Linked DNA regions of Homo sapiens: region 2 is linked to region 1. Evidence: promoter capture Hi-C in human tissues and cell types (Jung and others, 2019). All regions are on one chromosome and are shown on one strand. Each heading gives the region's core, a stretch centred on a gene start or on the middle of the fragment in contact. The rest is flanking DNA. Distances are from core to core; before and after follow the strand shown. Region 1 holds the start of UBE2F-SCLY (UBE2F-SCLY readthrough (NMD candidate)). Region 2 overlaps UBE2F (ubiquitin conjugating enzyme E2 F (putative)).

Region 1 (4,862 bases), core at 1,026-3,525:
TTCAATTCCACTGAAGAGTCAGATTGCTGGTTTACTATCTTCAAGTCTGTGACTTGCAAGATATAAAAGAATGTAACACTGGTGCTTTGTTTTCCATAGAAAGTAATAAAAAATGTACTTCTCTAACATTCTAAGAAATCTAATATAGTGACCATCTATTTTTCTATCGTGTGTATCATTTTCACACGCCACTTTAAGAATAAACCCAAGGCCTAATTTGGGAATGTTGCCATAGCTGTAAAATTAAATTTAAACCAAAGGATTCTATCAAAAAGTAAGTCTTCAAACTGTCAAGAGGCTAGCTGAATACCTGCAGTTGCTTCAGAATTCTTTTCCTTCTTCAATATGCTTCAACTCTTGAAGATCTGGTTTAAAACAAAACTTCCTCTTTCCTGCAAATTACGCTCTAAGGCAGCATTTCGGTAACAGATCAGCTGTTCTGAACAGCATTCTCAGTTTCTAAATTCCACAAGTTGTAATTGGCCCAGTTAGGTTCCTCCTCTGGGTGGGACCTGCTTTCAGACAGCCCGGAGAAGAGCATCTGGTGTGCAACTTACTAGTGCCATCAAGTGATATTTACTCAGCATCCCTGCAAGCAATGGCAAAACCAGGCCATGTCACTTGTGCAGGGACACCAGGGGCCAGTCAGCTCAAGGTGAGGGGGCTACTTATTTACAATTCCTTCCGAATGGAGACGTCTCAATCCAAGCATAAAGGATGGGACTGCGGGTCACTAGGGGACACTCAACTTCCCCAGCCAAAGGGGCCCCGATCAGGGCACAACAAAGTCCACATCCCACTCTTCTACAGAATGCCAGTGCCCAGGAACCTCCTGCTCGGCACAGGAGTACGCTGGTTGACCGACCATCTTTGGAGCCCAGCCCCTTTTACGTTCAGCAGTAAACCTGCCCCTTCCTGCACTGCCTACTACCTGAAAGGCAGGTATGTCCAGGTGGGGGGTCCTCAAGCCCCACAGCACTAAGCTTGGTGTGATTCTGTCTCTCAATCTCTCTCTCTCTCCCACCTCTATGCTCCCCCTTGCCTTCATCTCACTCCTCAGCCAGGATTCCTCTGCACCAGGCAGGCCAGTTTCCTCTTTGTTCCTTCACAACACCCTGTTCATTTCCAGAAGCTTCTATTCAGTCTGATACCCAGGTCTAGAATGCCCTCCTTCCCTTCACAAACGAATCCTACCCCTTCCTTAAGGGGAAGATTCCTACCTACATCCCAACATCTCCTCCTCCAAGAAGCTTTCTCTGGCTATTCCAACCCATCCTGCCCCCACTTCCAGGCGGTCGGGAATGCAGAGTGGGGGGACCCAATTCTCTCCTGTGACAGATGAGGAAACTGAGCCCAGGGAGGGGAAGGCCACACCCAAGATGACACACCAGCAGAACTAGGTCTGGAACCAAGACTCTGCTGCACTAATTGTTCCAAGATGCCCTTCCTTCCTCGTCTCCTTTGCTGTGGTAAAAATTTTCCAAACTAGCCTGGCCGCCCCCAGTTGTAGGTAAGCGTCCATACTTACTCTTCCCGCTGCAGGTACGAGGACCGGGCGCGAGTTGTCACTCCCCTCACCTCCCCCGCTCCTCACGGCCTAGCGCGACTCCTGCCCCGATCGGGAGTCCAGTCCCGGTTTCTGCGGCCACGTCGGGCCGGTGACCTTGGCCAGGCGCTGGACGCCCCGCTTCCTCCGTACAAGGCAGGCAGCCGATCCCGCGAGTGGGGCGTGAGCGCGGCCAGGTCTGTGCCACGCTCGGCCCAGGGCCTGGTTCACACCAGGTGCTCGGCGCGGGCCGTCCCCCGCCGCCGCCGCCGCGGTCACTCACTGCCGGGCGAGGCCAGCGCCCCGGCCGCCGACGCCGCCTCCGACCCCCGGCTCGCGGCCCGCGGCCCGCGGCCCCTTCCCATTCACGCCGCTCGGCCTCGCGTCCGGGTGCCCGCGCCCGCCAGGCCCCCGGCGTGAGGAACCCGGCGGGCCCGAGGCGGCCCCGCCACCGCCCGCGCCCTCCGCCCGGCCCGCAGGCCAGCCCGTGCACCGGCGGCCGCACCTCGCCCCGCCGCAGAGCCGCACGGTCGCTCCTCACCTGGGCTCCCCGAGACAGGCGAGGCGGGCCCGGCGCCCAACACCATGCCCGGTCCGGGCGGCTGCTGCGAGACGCGGCCCCTCACAGCCGCACCGGCTCCCGGCGGCGGGACCGGAAGTGGCGGGGCGGGGACTCGGCCGCTCTCGCCCGCGGCAGCCGAGACAGCAGCGGGCGCTTTAAAAAAAAAATTCAAAGTCGCGAAAAACTTTATTTGGAACCAGACACGCGAACAGCGGCGTGCGCCGATCGGGACTGGGCTGGGCGACGGGCCTCTCGGACCTCGCTCATTGGCAGAGGGCGCGGCCAGGGGGCGGGCACGGATTTCGCAACCGCCGCTGATTGGCGAGTAGCGTTAGGGGCGGGGATTCCGAGTTGGCTCTGGAGCCCGAGCGCCGGAGGGCTGGGGGTTTTGCACCTGGTTCCAACACGGGTTCACTTCGTGGTCTGCAGGGTTTAGGGGCACGGAGGAGCCCGGGCTATCCTTCCCTGAAGGAGCGGCCTCCGTGGCTGGAGCTCCCGCTGTCCAGCGCCGCACCTGGAGTGCAAAGGACTGGACAGGCCCCCGCAGCCTGCAGTGCAGGCGGTGAGGGAGACCGGGCGGTCAGACACGCAAGCCACGACCAACCCCAAACCGTGTGCTGCGCCCACAGGCCCCACTGTTCTTGTCATGTCCCTTTTATTCCTTCTTTTCTCTCTTAAATGTGTTTAAAGTACCTTAAAAATCCATTTCAACTTGTCCTCTTTTGGGCGCCCAGATTCATCCCGCGCCCATTAGCGTCCTGTGTGATTGACGAGGGGCCGTCCTGGGCGTCAGGCAGGCCCCTGGAGGAGTGGGCCATTAGAAAGATGAGGTTCAGCATGGAAACGGTCAGAAAGAGACAAGGAGTTAGACTTTCATTTCGAAAAACCCCACTGAGAGGTTTCTAACAGTGGAGTGACTATCAGGTTTTCTTCCTAAAGGAGGCTGGCGGGCCCGGTGGCTCACGCCTGTAATCCTAGCACTTTGGGAGGCCAAAGTGGGAGGATCCCATGAGCCCAAGAGTTTAAGACCAGCCTCCTGATGGTGGCAAGACCCCATCGCTACAAAAAAAGAAAAAAAAAATTAGCCGCGTGGTGGCGCGCGCCTGTAGTCCCAGCTACTCAGGAGGCTGGGATGGGAGGATCACCTGAGCCCAGGAGGTTGAGGCTGCAGTGAGCCGTGATCGCACCACTGCACTCCAGCTTGGGTGACAGGGCAGACCCTGTCCCCATAATAATAATAAAGGCTTTGGCTCTAAGTGAGTCGGTGGGAATGGAGTCAGGAAAACTGGTCAAGAACACAACTCAGCCGGGCGCAGTGGCTCAGGCCTGTAATCCCAGCACTTTGGGAGGCCGAGGCAGACAGATCACCTGAGGTCAGGAGTTCAAGACCAGCCTGGCCAACATGGCAAAACCCCATCTCTACTAAAAATACAAAAAAGCCGGGCGTGGTGGTGCGCCCTTGTAATCCCAGCTATTTGGAACGCTGAGGCAGGAGAATTGCTTGAACCCAGGAGGCGGAGGTTGCAGTGAGCTGACACTGCACTCCAGTCTGGGTGACACAGCAAGACTGTTTCCAGAAAAAAAAGAAAAAAGAAAGAACACAACTTGTGTTATTTCTTGTGTTTGGGACCATGTCTCTCCCTTTTTTGCCCGGCTAACTCTCAAGTTTTCCTAAGCTAAGACACCAACTTCTGATAGGCCTCAAAGCCTGGGGGTGGGGTGGGGCAGTGCAGGTGCCCTCTGTGTCTTCCTTGGAGCCCTGCACTTCCCTCTTCCTTATTGTCATGGCCTGTTTCCCTGACTAAGCTCAGCTCCTCAGCCCTCCTCTTCCTTCTTCCTCCAGCGTCACCTCCTGCCACCCCCTTTCCCATCCTGGAACATGCAGGTGATTAAAACACATCTGCTGGATAGAGATTGCATGCGCTGGCGGCATGAGTCCTGGTGAGAGGAGATAAGGGCTTGAAGATTGCAGTGTGTGAAGGTGCAGCCGGAATGGCGTGAGCACTTGTCTTACTCATAAGCGTCACTGTCTGCAGAATGGATTGCACCACACATTGGCCCACGTAGGCCCAAATTCCACCGCTGTGGATGAATGAAGTCATTTCTAGCTCCATTTCATGAGGCTGCCTAATTCTTTCACTAAGACTTATTTAGGACTTCCTAGTTTATTAACTCAATTAATCCAAACAATAACCCCATGAAACAGGTATTATCCCCATTTTATAGATGAGGAAACTGACACAGAAGTTAAGTAGTCTGTTGGCAAAAAAGGTCAAACTGTAAAATATTTGAAGAGATTTTATTCAGAGCCAAATATGAGTGACGAAGGCCTGAGTCACAGCCTCAAGAGGTCCTGAGAACATGTGCCAAGGTGGTTGGATTACAGCTCGATTTTTATAAATTTTAGGGGTGTCAGAGGCGTTTGAACCAGAGCAACTCCATCTTGAGGCTAAGACCTACTGGGCTACATTCCCAGGAGGTTAGGCATTCTAAGTCACAGGATGACATAGAAGGTTGGCACAGGTACAGGTCACAAAGAGCTTGCCGTTAAAAGGATGCCATTAAGAAGCCGGCCAAAACCAAGATAGCGACGAAAGTGTTCTCTGTTCATCCTCACTGTTCATTACGCACTAGTTATAATGTATCTGTTGCTAAAAGACACTCTCACCAGTGCCATGACAGTTTACAAATGTCATGGCAAAGACAGCAAGTTATCCTATGTGATCTAAAAATGGGAGGACCCCTCAGTTCCAG
Region 2 (4,590 bases), core at 1,536-4,035, 42 kb before region 1:
CAGTGAGCCATGACTGCACCACTTCACTCCAGCCTGGGCAACAGAGTGAGACCCTGTCTCAAAAAAAAGAAAATACTTTGTACAATCTTTGGCCTTTAACTTTGAAGTCCAAAGACAAAATGGCACAGCCATAACAAGACACTTTCCATGCCCATCTAATCTACTTATTTATGTGAACAAGCAGTCCTGAGTGTTTATATCTATAAAGACAAAATAATGGAAGAAAACTGGTATCAGACCTTTGTTTCTAGCATAAAATAATATTCATTCACAAATGCATCAATTTAATCAGGGAAAATGCTAATAGTAACCCCATCATTTTCAGAGATACACTGCAAGTGAAATGTTTAATTATCATCAAAATTTGCTTAAATTCATTATTCATTACACAAATAGTTGATGAGTGCCCACCATGTGCCACACACAGTTCTAGGCCCTGGTGACACATCAACAAGAGATAATTCCCGCCCTTATGAAGCGTATATTCTAGTGGAAGGGAGAGAAAATACATAAATTATATAATAGAAGGAGTAGAAAGTGGGAAGAGGCTGCAGTTTTAAGCAGGGAGGTCAGAGAAAATGATGAATTGAAGGAGGAGGGTACTGGGGTGAAGGACACTCCAGGCAGATGAAACAGGGTGGGTACGGTAAGAGGCCTAGTATGTTCCGTGAACCCTGCAGAAGCCAATGTGGTCAGAGAGTGAGGTGGAGGAAGAGGACCTGAGCCCAAAGAGGGAGCAGATGCAAAGGGTGTTGGGCCCTGCAGGCCCCTGCATGTAGCTGGCTCTGATTCAGAGTGAGATGCGGCCATGAAAGGGGTCTGAGTAGGGGAGGCACAGGAGCATATAAATGGATCGCAGAGCAGGAGCCCAGTTGTGGTTATCTGTTGTAATCATCCAGGTGAGAGATGGTAATGGTTAGGATCAGGGTGGGAGCAGGTGAAGTAGACAGATTTTGAAGGCAGCAACACCAGAATTTGCTGACAGATTAGGCACGGAGGGAGGAGAGAAGGAGTCAAAGAAGATCTTTGACCTTGCAATGGAAATGGCAGAGTTGCTACCATGAAGATAAAAGGACTGCAGATGGCACAACTGTGTGAAGTTCAAATCAGACACATTAACTTGAGATTTCAAGTTGGCATCCCAGTGGAGGTGTTGAGTGGGCAGCTGACAGATCATTCTTGAGTACTGGGAGAGGTTGGATAGAGAGGGCAGTTTGGGAGCCATTCAGGGTAAAGCATTCTGATGTCACAAGATAGCCAGGACACCAGGGAACTGACTATACAGGTCCAAAGACAGGGTGAAGCCTTGAGGTTCCCCCACTTTGAGGGGCTGGAAGATGAGGCAGAGGACAGGCAGCCAGAGACAAAGGAGGAAAAACCAGAAGCAGGAGCCTGTACAAATAACAACTGCAACAATCGTTCAAAAGCAAATGTTTAACACCTAAGAGTCTTACAGTTATAGGAACTTTTCAAATAGTGAGCTCTGGGCCGGGCACGGTGGCTCACGCCTGTAATCCCAGCACTTTGGGAGGCCAAGGCAGGCGGATCACAAGGTCAAGAGTTCGAGACCAGCCTGGCCAACATGGTGAAACCCGTCTATACTAAGAATACAAAAATCAGTCGGGCATAGTGGCGGGTACTTGTATTCCCAGCTACTTGGGAGGCTGAGGCAGAAGAACTACTTGAACCCGGGAGGCAGAGGTTGCAGTGAGCCAAGATTGTGCCACTGCACTCCAGCCTGGGCAATAAAGCAAGACTCTGTATCGAAAAAAAAACCAAATAAATAAAGCTCAATCTATCTATCTACCTGTATATCTAGTTACAGAAGAGTATAAAAAAATGACAAATAAAATACTTAAAAGCATAAAAATGTTTACATTAGGGTGCAATTCAAGGGAACAAGTGGAATGAAAACATGAGTGCCAGGAGAAAAACTAGCAAAGGTTTTCCAGCCAGTGAAGTAGAGCTTATTCACATCAAAATAAACAAAAAAACAAAAAAACAAAAAACTGTGATGATGGGAGTATCTGTGGTGGTGGGCATATCTGTGGTATTTATATTCTACACTGGAAACATTTCAAAGAGTAATATAAGACTTTCATTTTTAAATGTCAATATTTACAGCACCCTGGAAGTGACATCCTATGCAAACTTTAAACTTAAAAGGCTCTGATCCATCTCAGATCAGACTGTTGAAAGAGAAGAGACAGAGACAGATGGTGGAGAAGAGGAAGTGAGTGTGAGCGGAGGCAGGAGGCAGCACAGACATGGGCACCAGGGAGTGGCCAGGACTCTGGGATGCAGGGCTGCAGACAAAGGCACAATGACAGCTATTGTATAGAGATGCTGAGACTTAGAGGAAAACATGAACATAATGAGGAAAGAAATGGACGGTTACGGGGAAAGCACCAAATGGAACGTCAACAGCTAGAAAATACAGTATCTGAAATGAAAAATTCACTGGATGCGCTTAACAGCAAATGAGACATTGCAGAAAAACAAACTGTCCAAAATGAGGCACAGAAAGAAAAGTGAACGAAGACCTGCGACCCAATGGAGGTATAATTTACACGTAGAAGTAATCTATATGTAAGACATATATGATATAGATATATAAACTAGAGTGCCAGAAAACGATCACAGAAAAATATTTAAAGAAATGTTGGCCAAATTATTTCTAAATTGGATGAAAACTATAACTCACAGATCCAAAAAGCTTAATAAACCCCAAGTGTGATAAAAAGAAAAAACCACTTCAAAGCACATTATAATCAAACTGCTGAAAGCAGTGATAAGGAGAAAATCTTAAAAGCAGCCAGAGAATAAAATGCACATCGCATAAAGTGGAACAAAGAATCACCACTAACTTGTAAGGAAAAAATACAGAAGGCAGTAGAATGATATCCTTAAAATGCTGAAACTGTCAACTTAAGAATTCAAACTTCAGCAACACTTGACAGAATTCATCACAAGCAAATCTGCACTACAAAAAAATCTTCAAGGATGTTCTTTAGGCAGAAGGAAAATAACAGAGAGGAGAAATCTAGATCTACAAAAGGGAATGAGGGTCATAAATGTTAAGTATGTGGAGACATATATTTTAAAAACAGACTGTAAAGCACAGATAATATATTCTGGGTTACAACATATGTAAAAGTAAAACAAATGAGAACTATAATATAAAGGTTGAGCTGGGAAATGGAAACATACTACTGTTTGTCTAAGCTTCCATCTTAAACATCAGAAAAAGAAGAGCAAATTAAACTGGAAATAAAGAGGAGGGAAATAACAAAGACATGAACAAAATTCAAAAAACAACAGGGCAAAATCAATGAACCTAAAAGTAGGTTCTTTGCAAAGGTCAAAAAATTGACAATCTTCTCATTAACCTGATCAAGAGAAAAAGACAAAAATTACAACATCAGTAATTAAAGAGGAGATACAACACAAACTCTACAGAACTTAAAAGGATAGGATAAGATGATACTAAGAACATTATATCAATAAATTGAAAAATGCAGATGATATGAGCAAATCCCTTGAAGGACACAAATTAGTGAAGCCCACTCAAGAATAACCTAGGCAGCCCTATATCTATTAGAAATTGTGTTTATACTTAAAATCTTACCACAACAAAACAAAATTCCAGAGACAGGTGGCTTCACAGGTGAATTCTACCACTGAATAAAGAATTAATAGGCCAGGCACAGTGGCTCACACCTGTAATCTCAGCACTTTGGGAGGATCACTTGAGCCCAAGGGTTCGAGACCAGCCTGGGCAACATAGTGAGACCCCCGTCTCTACAAAAAATAATTAGCTGGACATGGTAGTGCATCTGCCCACTACAGACGATGGGCATCTGTAGTCCCAGTTACCTGGGAGCCTGAGGCGGGAGGACTGCTTGAGCCCAGGATGTTGAGGCTGCAGTGAGGCGTGATCGTGCCACTGTGCTTCAGCCTGGGCAAGAGAGTAAGACCTTGTCTAAAAAAAAATCAATTAACTAATTAATACTAATTTTACACAAACTCTTCCAGAGAATAGGACACTCCCCAAATGCATTCAAAGACCAGAATGCATTACCTTGACACCAAAATTAGGCAACTCATTACAAAAAAAACTACAAATATCCCTCACAGACAGGTAAGGATTTGTAAAAATTCTTAACAAAATACTAATATATCAAACTGAGCAATATATGAAACCATTAACACATAATACATGATGAATTATGGTTTATCTCACAAATGCAGCTTTGGTTCAACATTTGAAAAATAATCTATTAATGTAATTTACCTTATCAACAGACCAAAACAGAAAAACCATTATGATCACCTCAGTAGATGCAGAAAAAGCATTTGGCAAATTAAGCATCCATTCATTATTGGCCATTTTTGGTTTGGGAGGAAAAAAGCATCCATTCATGATTAAAAAAAAAATACATACATACATATACATATATATGTATATATGCAAACAAGAAGTAGAAAAGAACTTCTCAACCTGATAAAGGGCATCTGCAAAAACCCTATAGCAAGGCCGGACTCAGTGGCTCACGCCTGTAATCCCAGCACTTTGGGAGACCAAGGTGG

Evidence for each region. Contacts are between HindIII fragments. The study calls those that stand out against the background at their distance.
Region 2: a fragment that was not itself captured here is called in contact with the fragment with the promoter of UBE2F-SCLY in region 1 in 4 of the 25 tissues and cell types used here (H1 embryonic stem cells, IMR-90 fibroblasts, hippocampus and 1 more).

Annotation. Positions count from the first base shown.
Region 1 is chr2:237,964,358-237,969,219 of GRCh38, reverse strand. It overlaps UBE2F-SCLY (UBE2F-SCLY readthrough (NMD candidate)), which reads right to left and starts at 2,275. Exons shown (of 19, transcript NR_037904.1): 1 at 2,088-2,275. It overlaps UBE2F (ubiquitin conjugating enzyme E2 F (putative)), which reads right to left and starts at 2,206. Exons shown (of 10, transcript NM_080678.3): 1 at 2,088-2,206. RefSeq lists a silencer at 1,983-2,162 and cis regulatory regions at 3,679-4,342, 4,669-4,862. The HindIII fragment of the contact is 7,997 bases long and covers 1-4,862 here.
Region 2 is chr2:238,007,367-238,011,956 of GRCh38, reverse strand. The region is part of intron 4 of UBE2F (ubiquitin conjugating enzyme E2 F (putative)); the gene reads right to left. All of the region lies in intron 4 of UBE2F-SCLY (UBE2F-SCLY readthrough (NMD candidate)), which reads right to left. Among named protein-coding and RNA genes, the nearest start is that of UBE2F, 43 kb to the right of the region's middle. The HindIII fragment of the contact is 3,461 bases long and covers 1,055-4,515 here.